Regions from separate parts of the Homo sapiens genome. Here regions 1, 3 and 4 are each linked to region 2. Evidence: promoter capture Hi-C in 16 types of primary human blood cells and fetal thymus (Javierre and others, 2016). All regions are on one chromosome and are shown on one strand. The core of a region is centred on a gene start or on the middle of the fragment in contact, and the rest is flanking DNA. Distances in the headings are between cores, read along the strand shown. Region 1 has its middle 150 kb from the start of CYRIA. Region 2 holds the start of MYCN (MYCN proto-oncogene, bHLH transcription factor). Region 3 has its middle 200 kb from the start of CYRIA. Region 4 overlaps CYRIA (CYFIP related Rac1 interactor A).

Region 1 (3,235 bases), core at 608-3,107, 580 kb after region 2:
CCCTCTGCAGCGACCTCTCAGCAACCTGAGCTCTGCCATAGTTTGCATCACCCCATACTCTGATGGTCTATACGCAGGACCTCACACAGACCAGAAGGAAGGGAACACATGCTCCTTTCCCTCCCTGGCCATTTTAAAGCCCACCATCCTTCATACTCCCATCTGGAGCTTTCTTCTGATGCTCTCTAGGGAGCAAGTTCTGAAGGGACAATTGAGAAAAGGACACAAGGACCCTGGATGGTTGGGGTGTGAGTGAGGGGAGAAAGGGGCATTTCCTGGGGGACAAACAGTGCCAAGCCCTTTGGCTTTCTTTTAACAGGGGACATAAGGGACCCAAGAGAGACGTTTTCAGACATGCCACATTCTTCCACGGATATGTCATGAAGCTGGATTTCAGGATATCTAGAAGAGCCTTTTCTCTTGTTGTTCCCCTTCTATTAAACCCATGTTGTTCTCTGCTTTTCTTCTTTTGTCTCCACCTTCTTTATTCCTCATCACTTTAACCCTGCCTTTCTTTTTATCTTCCTTTCTACCTACTCATTTGAATTCCTATGTCTTAAGAAGGCCTAGGTATCGCTTCTCAGCCTTTTGGCTAAGATCAGGTGAAGAAGGCCTAGGCTCCAACAGCCAAAGAGTAATGGAGAAAGAAGAGGGAATAGCATGACTGAGCTTACTACCACTCAGCATCGTGCTAAACGGTTTCCATACATGGTCTGATTTAATGCTTACAACTGTTCAGTCAGGCAGATTTCTTGTTTATACTTTTCAAATGAGAACTCCAAGGCTGAAGAAATTAAAGGATGTTTCCAAAATCACACACCTAGTGCGGAACAGTCATGTCATTCTTTGAGTGTCAACTGCATACTAGGTCCTGTGTAAGCCCAGGGGTACAAAAATAAATATGACATTTACCATCAAGGCCCCCTAACCTAGCAGCAGTGGAGCCCCCTGTGATTCTGCTGAGACTCTACTGTACCTTGCTGCCTGACACAATCAATTCACAATTCAGGGAGAAACATAGCAAGTGAAAGTCTATGGAGAGTTATAGAGGAAGCAAGAATGGGCAAATACTGAAATTGAGTGATTGATACCTGGAGGTTCACCATATTACTTTCCTTACCTAATTAACATCTGGAAAACTTCACATCACAGGCTTGTAATTGTGTCTTTTCTGAAATAGAGACACCCAAGTTTAAAATGGAGCACATCTTCTCAGTAATCAAGACTCCTAAAAACAAAAAATTTCAAAACAGATATGTCCTTATTGGGACTTGTTCTTGCTCTCCGGTTTACATAGGGTTTTACAGGCAAACATGGCCACTCAGAAAGGAGAACATATGCAACGAGCAACCCACACTCCATCTGCCATTAGACACAGAAGACAGGAGAGCCACATGGAATGAGAGACCTCTGTCCAACCGGGACATAATAAGATACTCAATCCTGTTTTTCAAGACTTCTGTGCATATATCACCAAAGACACTAGAAACAACTTACAGTACTCCAAGACACGTAGTCTTATAGGAAACCATTCTCCCTGACATTGGAGTCTCCACTTCTGAGAAGGAAATAGAATAATCAATTTCCTACAAGCTTGCTTTGTGCAGGGAAAATAGCTTGATTGAAAACTCAAACAGATGTTTCTACTTCGCGTCTGCTCTGAGCAGGCTTTTCTTCCTGGTCCTTTGAAATCTTTGGCTATGATGGCTACTGGTAGAATGGATCCATCTCTGCATAGAAGATGGCAACAGGCAGAGTCCTTTGCCGATGCCAGATCCCTTCCCACTCAAAACATTGCCATGTGACAATCTCAGAAAGCAGCTCCTCTGGTTCTGCCTGCACTGAGAATGTGGTTTTAGCTGCTGGCTGACATGGTGCTTCTGCTGCTGCACAATCTGGATGTTGAGACTGGCCTAATCCAGCTATTTAGGTGGGTCATTTATATCAGGCCACAGGGAATGGGGTGATGGTGCCAATCTATCATTCAGTGTTTTTCCCTGAGCACATCCTACATGCTGAGGCTTGTGCTAGGAGACTTCAGGAATCAAAGAGGAGCATGATTTAGTCCATCCACATGGCAGCTGGGGCAACAGAAAATAACATAACTCAAGCTACATGTTCAAAAGCTTGATCTGCTCCTTTTGTCCACAGCTCACTCCTGTTTCAGTGTGTGACCCTCCACTCCACCCACTCATACCAGAGACCTGGGATTCATTCTGGATCTTTTCCTGACTTTTCTCCCCACATATAATCAGTCATTAAGTCCTCCAGAGCTTTCTTCTGCATTCTGTGGGGCTGCCCCCACTCAGCCATTTCCTTCTCCCGCTCCCCTCCCAGGATGTCCCGCGCCATCTTTTCTTCATCTGAGGCTGGAGGAAGGTTCACGGCACTTTCCTTTTCAATGTTTCTCAGTGACTCCCCATGATCCTTCTGATCAAGCCTGTCCAGTCACCTAAAACTCAGATGCCCTCCATGCTGCACTCTCATGAGGCATCTCCCATTTCACGCCCTACTTCTGTCCTTTGGGAGTCAAACCAGGCTCTTGACTCCTTGCAGTATTCAACTCACATTTTCCTGATACCTCCTCTCACTTCCTGACTTTTATTCTGTCTGGAATATATCTTGCTTTGTCCAAATACTACTGCCTGTTCTTCATACCTTGCTCAGATACCACTCCTGTATGAAGCCTTCCTTGACCTGCCAGTCTAAAGGTGTCTTGTTTTTCTTTAAATCCCTTTAAGACTTCTGTTTGTAAAAGCATTGAGGTTAGAGGAGAAGTTTTATATAAAACAGGTTTGGCCTTGAAATTTGATTAAGCCACTAAATAACCAGGTACTCTTGAGTTAACATCTCAAGCCTCAGTTTTTAATTCTGTGAAAGGGAGAATGATCATACCACCTACTTTGTTGTAAAGATCAGAGCTAACGTATGCAAAGCAGTTCCACCATACACACGGTAGGTGCTTGATAGAGTAGGAATTGCTGTTATTATTTATGCCAGTATCCTGTACTGTCTGTGAGTTTGTTGGGTGTTGGCTGAGGCTCCTGCTCTCATCCATTTTACAGGGTGGCTGCCCAGGGCCTGCCTCTGGTGGGTGCTGGGGACAGCTGCATTTCCTGTGCTGGGGGAGAGCAAGGATCTGATCTGGGGCTGCTGAGGGCACAGAGCGGTCACAGAGAACAGCAGGCCCAAAACCCATATTATCAAAGGCCCGAGGCCCTGCAAGGACTGGCAT
Region 2 (2,976 bases), core at 199-2,698:
TCTCTCCAAACAAGCCTAAGGAATGTTTTTCAAGGCAAAATCCCACCTCACTGTGTATTTGGTTGTGAAGGGGGCTGTCCAGGAGATCAGGGTTGTTTTTGGAGAGTTTGGAGGGCAGGGGCAATAATGTCTGACCCCCTGCAAACAAATACACCTGTAAGAAAAGCTAGACCAGAGTGAAGTAAAGCCAGGATTTGATGGTGGCGGGAAGGGAAGGGGCCAATGCTGCTGCTGGACAGAGGGGTGTTATTTTCCCCAGAAGAATAGCATGTCGTGGTCATCATCATAATAATAGCTGACACAACTATTATGGGCTGGGGACTTATAAGAGCTTTCATAACTCTCAGGTAGGAGGCACTACGAACTCCATTTCACAATTGAGGAAACTGAGGCACAAAGAAACGAAGTAGTGACAGCAGCTTTCCTTTTTCCCTTCAACAGTTTGGAATCAAGCTGTTTGAGCCGAGGCTGGGTCTCAGGAGGTGTGGACAGCACTTCCATCTCGGTAAATCAGATTCGCCTGCCCATAACTGGGGAGAATGGTGGCTTTGAAAAGGTTAACTTGGGAGCCCTGGGGACGGCTGCAGGGAACGTACGCCCATTCCCCCTAGGAAGCAGAGCCAGGCCGCCTCCTCCTCCGCAGTGGTGAGGACGCGTGGACAGTCCCGCGGGGGCGGCGGGAGACCTGCGGAGTGGCCGCACTCCAGGTCCGCGCCAAGGCCGGGCAGCTCCGCTTTCTGCTCAGTCTCCGCGAGGTGTCGCCTTCGGCCGAAGAAACCACCGCGGCGCCACCCTCGTAGCTCGCACTTATTTATTTATTTATTTTCAAACAAGGGGGGCGCCCCTCTTCTTTCAATTTGAAACTGGAAACATCCAGAGGTCTTGTTCCTAAGGGGGCGCGTCCTCTCCCTGCTATTTTGCACCTTCGGACTAGCCTTCTTTCGTAATTACACAGGAGCAACCTCCCTGCAAGGCCTTGCTCAACGTTGGCCTCGCGCTCAGCTGCACAACACGCAGTCAAAGCGGGGGCTGGGTTAGAAGCATCGGTCTCCCCTCCCCAACACACACCCCCGGAGCCCTCCGTAATTTTTTTTTCTTTTAATGACAAGCAATTGCCAGGCTCGCAGGGTGGGTGCTGCATTGCACCGCTCCGCGCGCAGCTGGTTCTCAGAGTGCAGCCGGTGCAAGCCCGGGGGTCCAAAAGGGCGGGAGGAGCACACCCTGGGCTTCCCAGCTTTGCAGCCTTCTCTCTGCAAAGAAAAGCAAGTGGCTTTTGGCGCGAAAGCCTTGGCGCCTCCCCTGATTTTTATGGAAATCAGGAGGGCGGGGTAAAGCCGCTTTCCTCTCCTTTCTCCCTCCCCCTTGTCTGCGCCACAGCCCCCTTCTCTCCCCGCCCCCCGGGTGTGTCAGATTTTTCAGTTAATAATATCCCCCGAGCTTCAAAGCGCAGGCTGTGACAGTCATCTGTCTGGACGCGCTGGGTGGATGCGGGGGGCTCCTGGGAACTGTGTTGGAGCCGAGCAAGCGCTAGCCAGGCGCAAGCGCGCACAGACTGTAGCCATCCGAGGACACCCCCGCCCCCCCGGCCCACCCGGAGACACCCGCGCAGAATCGCCTCCGGATCCCCTGCAGTCGGCGGGAGGTAAGGAGCAGGGCTTGCAAACCGCCCGGCGCCCAGGGAAGCGACGAGCGCCGGGGCAAGGCAAGCCCTGGACGGGATTGCGACGTGCGCACCGGGCGCCCTAATATGCCCGGGGGACTGTTTCTGCTTCCGAAACAAAACCATCTCTGGGTTTTCCCAGAAAAGCCAGTTCCAGCCCCGAAGGCATCCTGGCTAGAGGAGACCCGCCCTAATCCTTTTGCAGCCCTTACCGGGGGGAGTAATGGCTTCTGCGAAAAGAAATTCCCTCGGCTCTAGAAGATCTGTCTGTGTTTGAGCTGTCGGAGAGCCGGTGCGTCCCCACCCCAGGCTGGGGTTCTTCTCCAAAGGGTGCCCCTGGAGGAAGAAGAGGGGGGGATTAGGCAGGGCGAGGCCGCCGCGGTCGCAATCTGGGTCACGGCTGCTCCAGCTTGGAGGAGAGGCGGCTCTCCCGGCGACCCTCCTCGCGCGGGCGCCCCTGCCATTCCCGGGAACAGGGGCTCAGCCTCTCCCTCCCTGGAAGAGGACGTTGTCGTGGGTTTGGAAGAGCAGGGGTGGGCTTAGAGAGCTTCCAATTAAGCTATTGGCAGGAGTATCCCTGCAGCGGGTGAATGCCGAGGGGCGTTTGCTCAAATTTGGGGAGGGGAAGGATTTGTGGATATGGGTGTCTGTTGTTGGTCTCTGTCTAGAGAAAGGCTTTTTTTTATTTGCAAAGTTTTCTAAATCCCCTGCTATCATTTGCACTCCTGAGGTTGCATTTTTACAAAGGGGGTAGAAGGTACTCCAAATACCATTCCCGGTAGCTGGGTCGGAGAGCCTGGGGCTTCCCCTGAGCAGCCGGCCCCACACCGCTGCGAGTGCGGTTGTCTGCGTGCTCGTGAGAGCTAGAATTCTGCAGCCAGGAACAGCCCCCTCCCCCAGGCAGTGCCTTGTGTGAATGAAATGGCAGTTTCCAAAGTTGCGGAGCCTCGCCACCACCCCCTGCATCTGCATGCCCCCTCCCACCCCCTGTCGTAGACAGCTTGTACACAAAAGGAGGGCGGGAGGGAGGGAGCGAGAGGCACAACTTCCTCCACCTTCGGGAGCAGTGGGCAGAGTGGGGGGCTTGGAGGGAAGATTGGGGAACCTGGTTAGAGGGGGCGCCCATTGCCTATCCCCTCGGTCTGCCCCGTTTGCCCACCCTCTCCGGTGTGTCTGTCGGTTGCAGTGTTGGAGGTCGGCGCCGGCCCCCGCCTTCCGCGCCCCCCACGGGAAGGAAGCACCCCCGGTATTAAAACGAACGGGGCGGAAAGAAGCCCTCAGTCGCCGGCCGGGAGGCGAGCCGATGCCGAGCTGCT
Region 3 (3,035 bases), core at 32-2,531, 520 kb after region 2:
GAAAAATGATGCATATATTTTTTGAACTTCAATGATTTGTGAGGTTGAATGACTTTTTATATTTACTGACCAGTTGCATTTTTCTTTAGACTTTAGACTGGTTGAGATTTTTTATCCCTCTTTTTCTCTTTGAGAAATTTGATTTTTCCTGATAGGTTTGCAGTAGCTCTTTAGACAGTAGTTCCCCCTTATCCGAGAAGGTGCATTCCAGGACCCCAAGTAGATGCCTTAAACCACAGATGTATTGGACCTTATATATTCTGTTTTTTTCTTACACCACATACCCTTGGTAAAGTTTAGTTTATAAACTAGGCATGGTAAGAGATTAACAATAATAACGAATAATAAAATAACAAGTATAGTAATATGCTGTAATAAAAATTATACAAATATGGTCTCTCTTCATCTCTCTCAAAATATCTTATTATACTATGCCCACCTATTTCCAGACCACATTTTACTATGGGTAAGTGAAGCCAGATAAAGGGGGACTACAGTAGGTTACTGATATTATTCTTTCCCTGCCATTTATGTTACAAATGATTTTTCCAAGTTATTATGCATGTGTCAGCCTTGTCTGTGGTGGTTGCAATGTGGAACGTGTTGAGGGGAAGGCCACAGTTTGTGCCATGAAGACTCTTCTGATTTTATACATAGTCAAATATACCAGTTGTTTCCTTTATGGTTTCTGGCTTACATCTCATCTCATGAAAGATGCTTTTCTGTGGCATAGTAGATGGATTTATTTTGTTTTCAATAGTTTTCCTAAAGGACATTCCTCCCAGGGCACATTTCAAAGAAAGGGCTTCTTTTTAGTGGTACTTTGCCTTTTTTGGTTAACAAACCCTTAGAAATCTGAAAGACCATAATAGATCTTATGACCTCAAAAAACTGCATATGTGTCCATACGCCAAAAGTCTGCATAGATTCTGGGTTTTAGACCCCTGTTTAGTGACCCTTATTGTGTTAGTCAGGTTTCTCTACAGAAACGGAACCAATAGGAGACAGACACACAGAGAGAGGTAGATATAGATACAGTAATAGAGATAGATGACAGATAGATAGATAGATAGATAGATAGAGATAGATAGACATAGATATAAAAGAAGGTTTATTATGAGGGTTTGGTTTATGTAATTATGAGGCTGAGAAGTCCCACAGTCTGCTATCTGCAACCTGGAGACTGAGGAAAGCTGGTGGTATAATTCCAGTCTAAGAGGAGGAAGAGACTGATGTCCCAGCTCAAGCAGGAAGGCCAGAAGCAAAAAGTGATGAATTCCTTCTTCCTCTTCCTTTTTGTTTTATTTAGGCCCTCAACAGATTGGATGATGTCCACCCATATTGGGGAGGGCAATCTACTTCACAGAATCCACCAATCCAAATGCTAATCATCTGGAAACATCCTCACAGAGAAACCCAGAAATAATGTTTAATCTGGGTGTCCCATAGCATGCTCAAGTTGACACATAAACTTAGCCATTACATCTATCATAGATTGCCTATGAGAGAAGAATCTATTACTGGTGTCTGTGAGTGTGAGAGCCAGGAAGGCTGTGGCTGGCCTCCCTGTAGTCACCTTGGATGTGCTATTGATGTGGATGAGGCTTTTCCCTGGGGCCTTTCTTCTCATAGGAGTCCTCCCTCCCCACCCCGAGATACTGATACTTCACATTTTAGTGAAGTGCACAGTAGAATAGAAGAAGCTCTGAGTTAGAAATTAACAAAGGACTGAGGTTACATTGAGGCAAGTGGGAGTCTGACCCCTGCAGGACAGCCACAGTTTGATCCTGCAGATGAGCCCAGTTCCAGACAGCATTTTCCTTAATCCTTTAGACTCCCATGCCTCTAGCAATCCACAAGAGATTCCTAACTGACTGTATTTTCTTAGCTTGTTTCCCTCTTTAGGTGATGCAGGAAGCCAAGGGGCTGGAGTGAGAGGAACGGCCTCACCCTCGTTGAGATTAGGCTCTTTAGAGTCTTTTTCTGGATAGCAGGTCTTCGTCATGGAGGCCACTCTGGGCTACTTCAAAATGGTGACTTTCCTCCTCTTCCCTTCCACATTTTCCCCCAGAGGTAGACAGGGATCTTTTCTGGCTTTGGATCTTTCTTTACTTTGAAAACTTGGGGGAGTTCCTAGAGGTAAACCCCTCAGATGTCCCACCATGTAACCCTGCCCAAGAAGCCAAAAGAAATCTCTTCCTACCTAACAGATTGAATGGCTCCTTGACCCCCATGGGGACTGGTCTCTGGAGTCTAAAGAGAAAGACAGCAGTGGAGAGAAATGAGGTTTTACAAGCAGTTGGAGCCCAGGCCATGAAAGTTTGTTTAAACATTCTTCTATGCCCATTCTAGGGGCAGTGAGGAACCACCTAAGAAGAGTCTGTAAGTGAGATTTTCAGATTTGCATTTCCAGAGATCACCCTAGTACTTTGTGAAGGTGGGGTTAAGCAGACTGAGTTAGGAGTCAATTTCCATCATCTGGGACAGAGACAGGGAGACAGTGGCCTGAAGTGATATTCCTGGAGACAAAGAGAAGTTTAAGGGTCCAAGAATATAAAGAAGCAGCACATTTGGTGACTGATGATGGCTGGTGGCAGAAAAAGGAACTGAGTCTGGACAGGCTCAGGATGTCACAGCTTCCAGCCTCCCAGAAGTGCTCCATGGAGCTTCAGCCCCAGCACATCTGGTCTCCCACTTGCTCCAAGGAGGCAATGAAGGGGGCATAGAAGTGCCTTCTGAACTCCCTTTATCCACCATCAGGCACAAGAGTCAACGTGTTCACAGGTAATTGTTGAGCATAGTCTACTTAGATTCTAATCACACCATGAAACACTTACTTGAAATTCATAACATGGGAACAGTCCTGTTAAACTACGAAAGATTGGCAAAATATAAAAAGAACCTCGTCTACATGACTAACCTGAATGTGCCAATTAAGCTAACTAGCAGCAGCTTATGCAATTGTTTTGCATCTGAGAAATCTCCACGCAGAAATGGACTCGGCTGAGTACAAAGTGCTACTCCATTACAGGCTC
Region 4 (3,107 bases), core at 336-2,835, 690 kb after region 2:
TGGGCTTGTGGGGGAAGTAGGGGTCTAAAGTCCAAGACTTCCTGCCAGGCTCCCAGCTGGGGCTCCCAGGCCCCCAGAGGCTGGGCTGGTTCTGGCTCTCAGCAGCAGGGGCAGCAGCAAGAGGGCACCTCAGGAAGTCACAATTATCAACGCTCCCTGGCTCAAGGCTTTGTTCCTGTTCTCAGACAACAAGGGACATGCCAGGAGAGATGGGGTGGGGGTGGAGAAAGAGGAAGAAAAAACAGGAAGTGAAGTGGGGGAGGAGGGAAGGAAATGATAGAGAAAACACAGCAACTCTGAAATGTCCTTGGCTTGATGAGAAAGTGATTTCTGAGTGGACGTTAGTGGAGCTGGGCCCTGCATTTTAGGAAACCGGATTGTGATGGTAACAGGGCAGGGCAAAGACGTTTACTTCCTCCAAACTCAGGGTTGGGGTCCACAAATTCCACTTCCCACCACCAAGCACCGCCTGGCACAGGGATGTTTTCCACACCTCAGGTGTAGACATGGAAGGTGGTGAATTTCCAAAGAAGGATTCTGGGGTAAGGCCCTGTTCCTCACCTTTTGACTGTGGCTGAGGGGCCAGGCGTGTCACAAAAGGATCTGGAAACAAGAGAAAAGCTCTCAAAGTGATCAGGTATCAGGGAGAGCTATCCCATCCTCACTGCTTTTTTTTTTTTTCTCAAATGTCCTCAGAATTGAACCCATTTTCAGTGTGCATGACTGGGATGGATTCACTCAGCTGGGTTCAGCACAAATGCTGCTATTTTCCACCACAAAACCAAGAGGGTCAGTCAGGCGGAACACCGGGTTTCCTCCTGATCATCATTCTAAGACACCTCCTGCTTGTCTTCCTGTCCATTTTGTTGACTCCATTTACTTACTGAGGCTTACAGAAATTCCCCAACTCCAAATGCACATTGTAAAGAATGACAGTCACCTGGTAACTTGAACAACCACACACAGAGATGACCCTAATAATAACTTAATAACCGAATACCACTTCTACTAATGCTAATACTATTCATAGACCCCTGATGGGCACCAAGGGGTAGAGAATGCAGAGCCCGTAAGCCATCACATACTGGTTCCCCTACTCCAGCGGGCCCCCTGTACTGGCTACGCATCTAAGAAGCTCACAAAAAATACAGACCCAATCCAGAGCAGCGGTCAGGAAACTTGTACGGTTAAAAATCTTCTGAGAGGGTTTTAGTGCCACCAACTTGGCTCTGATCCATGGACTAGCATTCAGTTAACACGGACCCCCACTCAGCTCTCACCCTCACCCCACCTTCTCCCACCTTACAGATGCAACCACAAAGGCTCGCCAAGGGCAGGGGCTCACTCCAGGTCCCACAGCTAATGGCCTCCCAGGGATCTGCCCCACTACTCCAAACCAAACATAGAACAACAAAAAGTCAGCATATGTTTGAGAGGACTCCAAGCCTTCTGAAGCAATTGCTGATGGTTTACTGTGTGAGTCACCCCGGGGCCAAGTGTCCATTAGGGAGAACAGAGAGCAAGGGGGGAAAGAAACTGAAAACTCTCATCTCGCATCTCCACAGGCAGCACAACCTCACATATCACCAGCAACACCAGCATGCATTTGCTCCCATCCAAGCAGCCACAGGCGGCCCAGGCTACTTCCACAGTGCTATGCCCTGTGCCTGGCCTGGTGGGGCTTCACACCACACAACACAATCAGGAGTTTGCCCTTCTGTAGCACCTGGCAGCCAGTGAAATGCTTTTCCATATCTTTTCATCTTTGCTCATTTTGAGAGCGGTACAAAGCTGAGGGGTAATCACCCCAGTTTATAAATGGAGAAGCCGAAATCAGAGACAGGAGGTGCCTTATCCAGAGTCTCAAAACAGAACTAGGGCCCGAAATAGGCATCTCCTGTCTTCCAGTCTAGCGACCTTTCCCCATGTCCTGTCCCACCCCACCCCATTCAGGGGAGGGCTAGGGAAGAGCTTCAAACGGCTGCTGCCTTCCCCTTCTGAATGGCTCTGGAAATAGAAAAGCAAGGCACAACAACTGAAGGGAAGGCAATATCCACTACGGGAGGCCGAAAGGGCCCCAAAGACTGTGTCCCCACCCTCCGGGGTGGGCAATCAAGGGACCCAAAGCCCAGGGTGGGGCATGCTTGTGCCCACAGTTCACCAGCAGCAGAGCTTAGACTGAGTCCCTCAATGCCAGAAGCACAGAGCAACACTGAGAAACCAGAAGGGGCAGGTGTTTGGATAATAAAAATAGCTAACACTGATCAAGTACTTACTGTGTGTTGGGCTTTGTTTAGCACTGTACATGTAGTGACTCCCTGAAACCTCATGGCAACCAAACTAGGTAGGCATTATTATTGTCCCCTTTTACAGAAGAGGTAACTGAGGCACAAAATGATTAAGTCACTTGTCCATGGGATTTAGCTTTTGAGTGATAGAGTCAAGGTGTGAACTTAAGCAGTCTGGCTCAAATTCTGCAAAGCCAAATAGTGGAAAGAAAGAGAATAAAGCAAATACACTAGGAACAGATGACACCTTCCTTCAAAAGGAGAGAAGGAAGATAGGAGACTCTCCAGGCAGGAAAGACTGACAGCTGCTGTGCAGGCAGAATTAGGAATTTGGTACCTAGTGCCCTCTGGGTAGCAGCCGACCAATGTCAGGCAACACCAGTAAATGACATCCTGGTGTTGGTGTTTATACAGCATGGCTGGGCCAGGGAGGGGATGAAGGCAGGGCCTGAGATGGGTGGAGGGGATGATGCCTTGGAAAGCCAATTCCTATGTCCCAGAGAGATGGAGCAGCTGGGCGGGCAGGCAGGCGGTTCCCTTTCTGCATCCCCAGCACCAGCAGTGCACACATGCCCGGGACACCAGGCTTCGGGGATGCCACTGGGTTTCAGCCTCATGATGCCTGGGAAGCCAGGAAAGACAGGGGTCATCTCTCACCATTTCTACAATGAAGAGCTAAAGCCAAAAACAGTCACAGCCCTAGAATAATAACAACAACAACAGCCACCATTTGTTGGCAGGTTATGATTTGTCAGGAAATATTCTAGATGTGTATATAGATTATGTAAAAATGATACCAACTCTGAGAGGTCCATATGA

The links. Contacts are between HindIII fragments. The CHiCAGO score rates a contact against its expected background, and 5 or more counts as called.
Region 1: a contact is called between a fragment that was not itself captured here and the fragment with the promoter of MYCN in region 2, in 2 of 17 cell types (erythroblasts and megakaryocytes). The highest score is 6.0, in erythroblasts.
Region 3: a contact is called between a fragment that was not itself captured here and the fragment with the promoter of MYCN in region 2, in 1 of 17 cell types (erythroblasts). The highest score is 5.4, in erythroblasts.
Region 4: a contact is called between a fragment that was not itself captured here and the fragment with the promoter of MYCN in region 2, in 1 of 17 cell types (naive CD8 T cells). The highest score is 6.6, in naive CD8 T cells.

The regions. Positions count from the first base shown.
Region 1 is chr2:16,519,132-16,522,366 of GRCh38, forward strand. No RefSeq gene overlaps it. Among named protein-coding and RNA genes, the nearest start is that of CYRIA, 150 kb to the right of the region's middle. The HindIII fragment of the contact is 533 bases long and covers 1,592-2,124 here.
Region 2 is chr2:15,939,102-15,942,077 of GRCh38, forward strand. It overlaps MYCN (MYCN proto-oncogene, bHLH transcription factor), which reads left to right and starts at 1,449. Exons shown (of 3, transcript NM_005378.6): 1 at 1,449-1,642; 2 at 2,847-2,976. The coding sequence starts at 2,964. It overlaps MYCNOS (MYCN opposite strand), which reads right to left and starts at 2,584. Exons shown (of 4, transcript NR_110230.2): 1 at 2,431-2,584; 2 at 1,873-1,996. RefSeq lists enhancers at 1-2, 1,047-1,577. The HindIII fragment of the contact is 19,196 bases long and covers 1-2,976 here.
Region 3 is chr2:16,460,068-16,463,102 of GRCh38, forward strand. No RefSeq gene overlaps it. Among named protein-coding and RNA genes, the nearest start is that of CYRIA, 200 kb to the right of the region's middle. The HindIII fragment of the contact is 4,041 bases long and covers 1-3,035 here.
Region 4 is chr2:16,625,167-16,628,273 of GRCh38, forward strand. The region is part of intron 1 of CYRIA (CYFIP related Rac1 interactor A); the gene reads right to left. Among named protein-coding and RNA genes, the nearest start is that of CYRIA, 39 kb to the right of the region's middle. The HindIII fragment of the contact is 7,677 bases long and covers 1-3,107 here.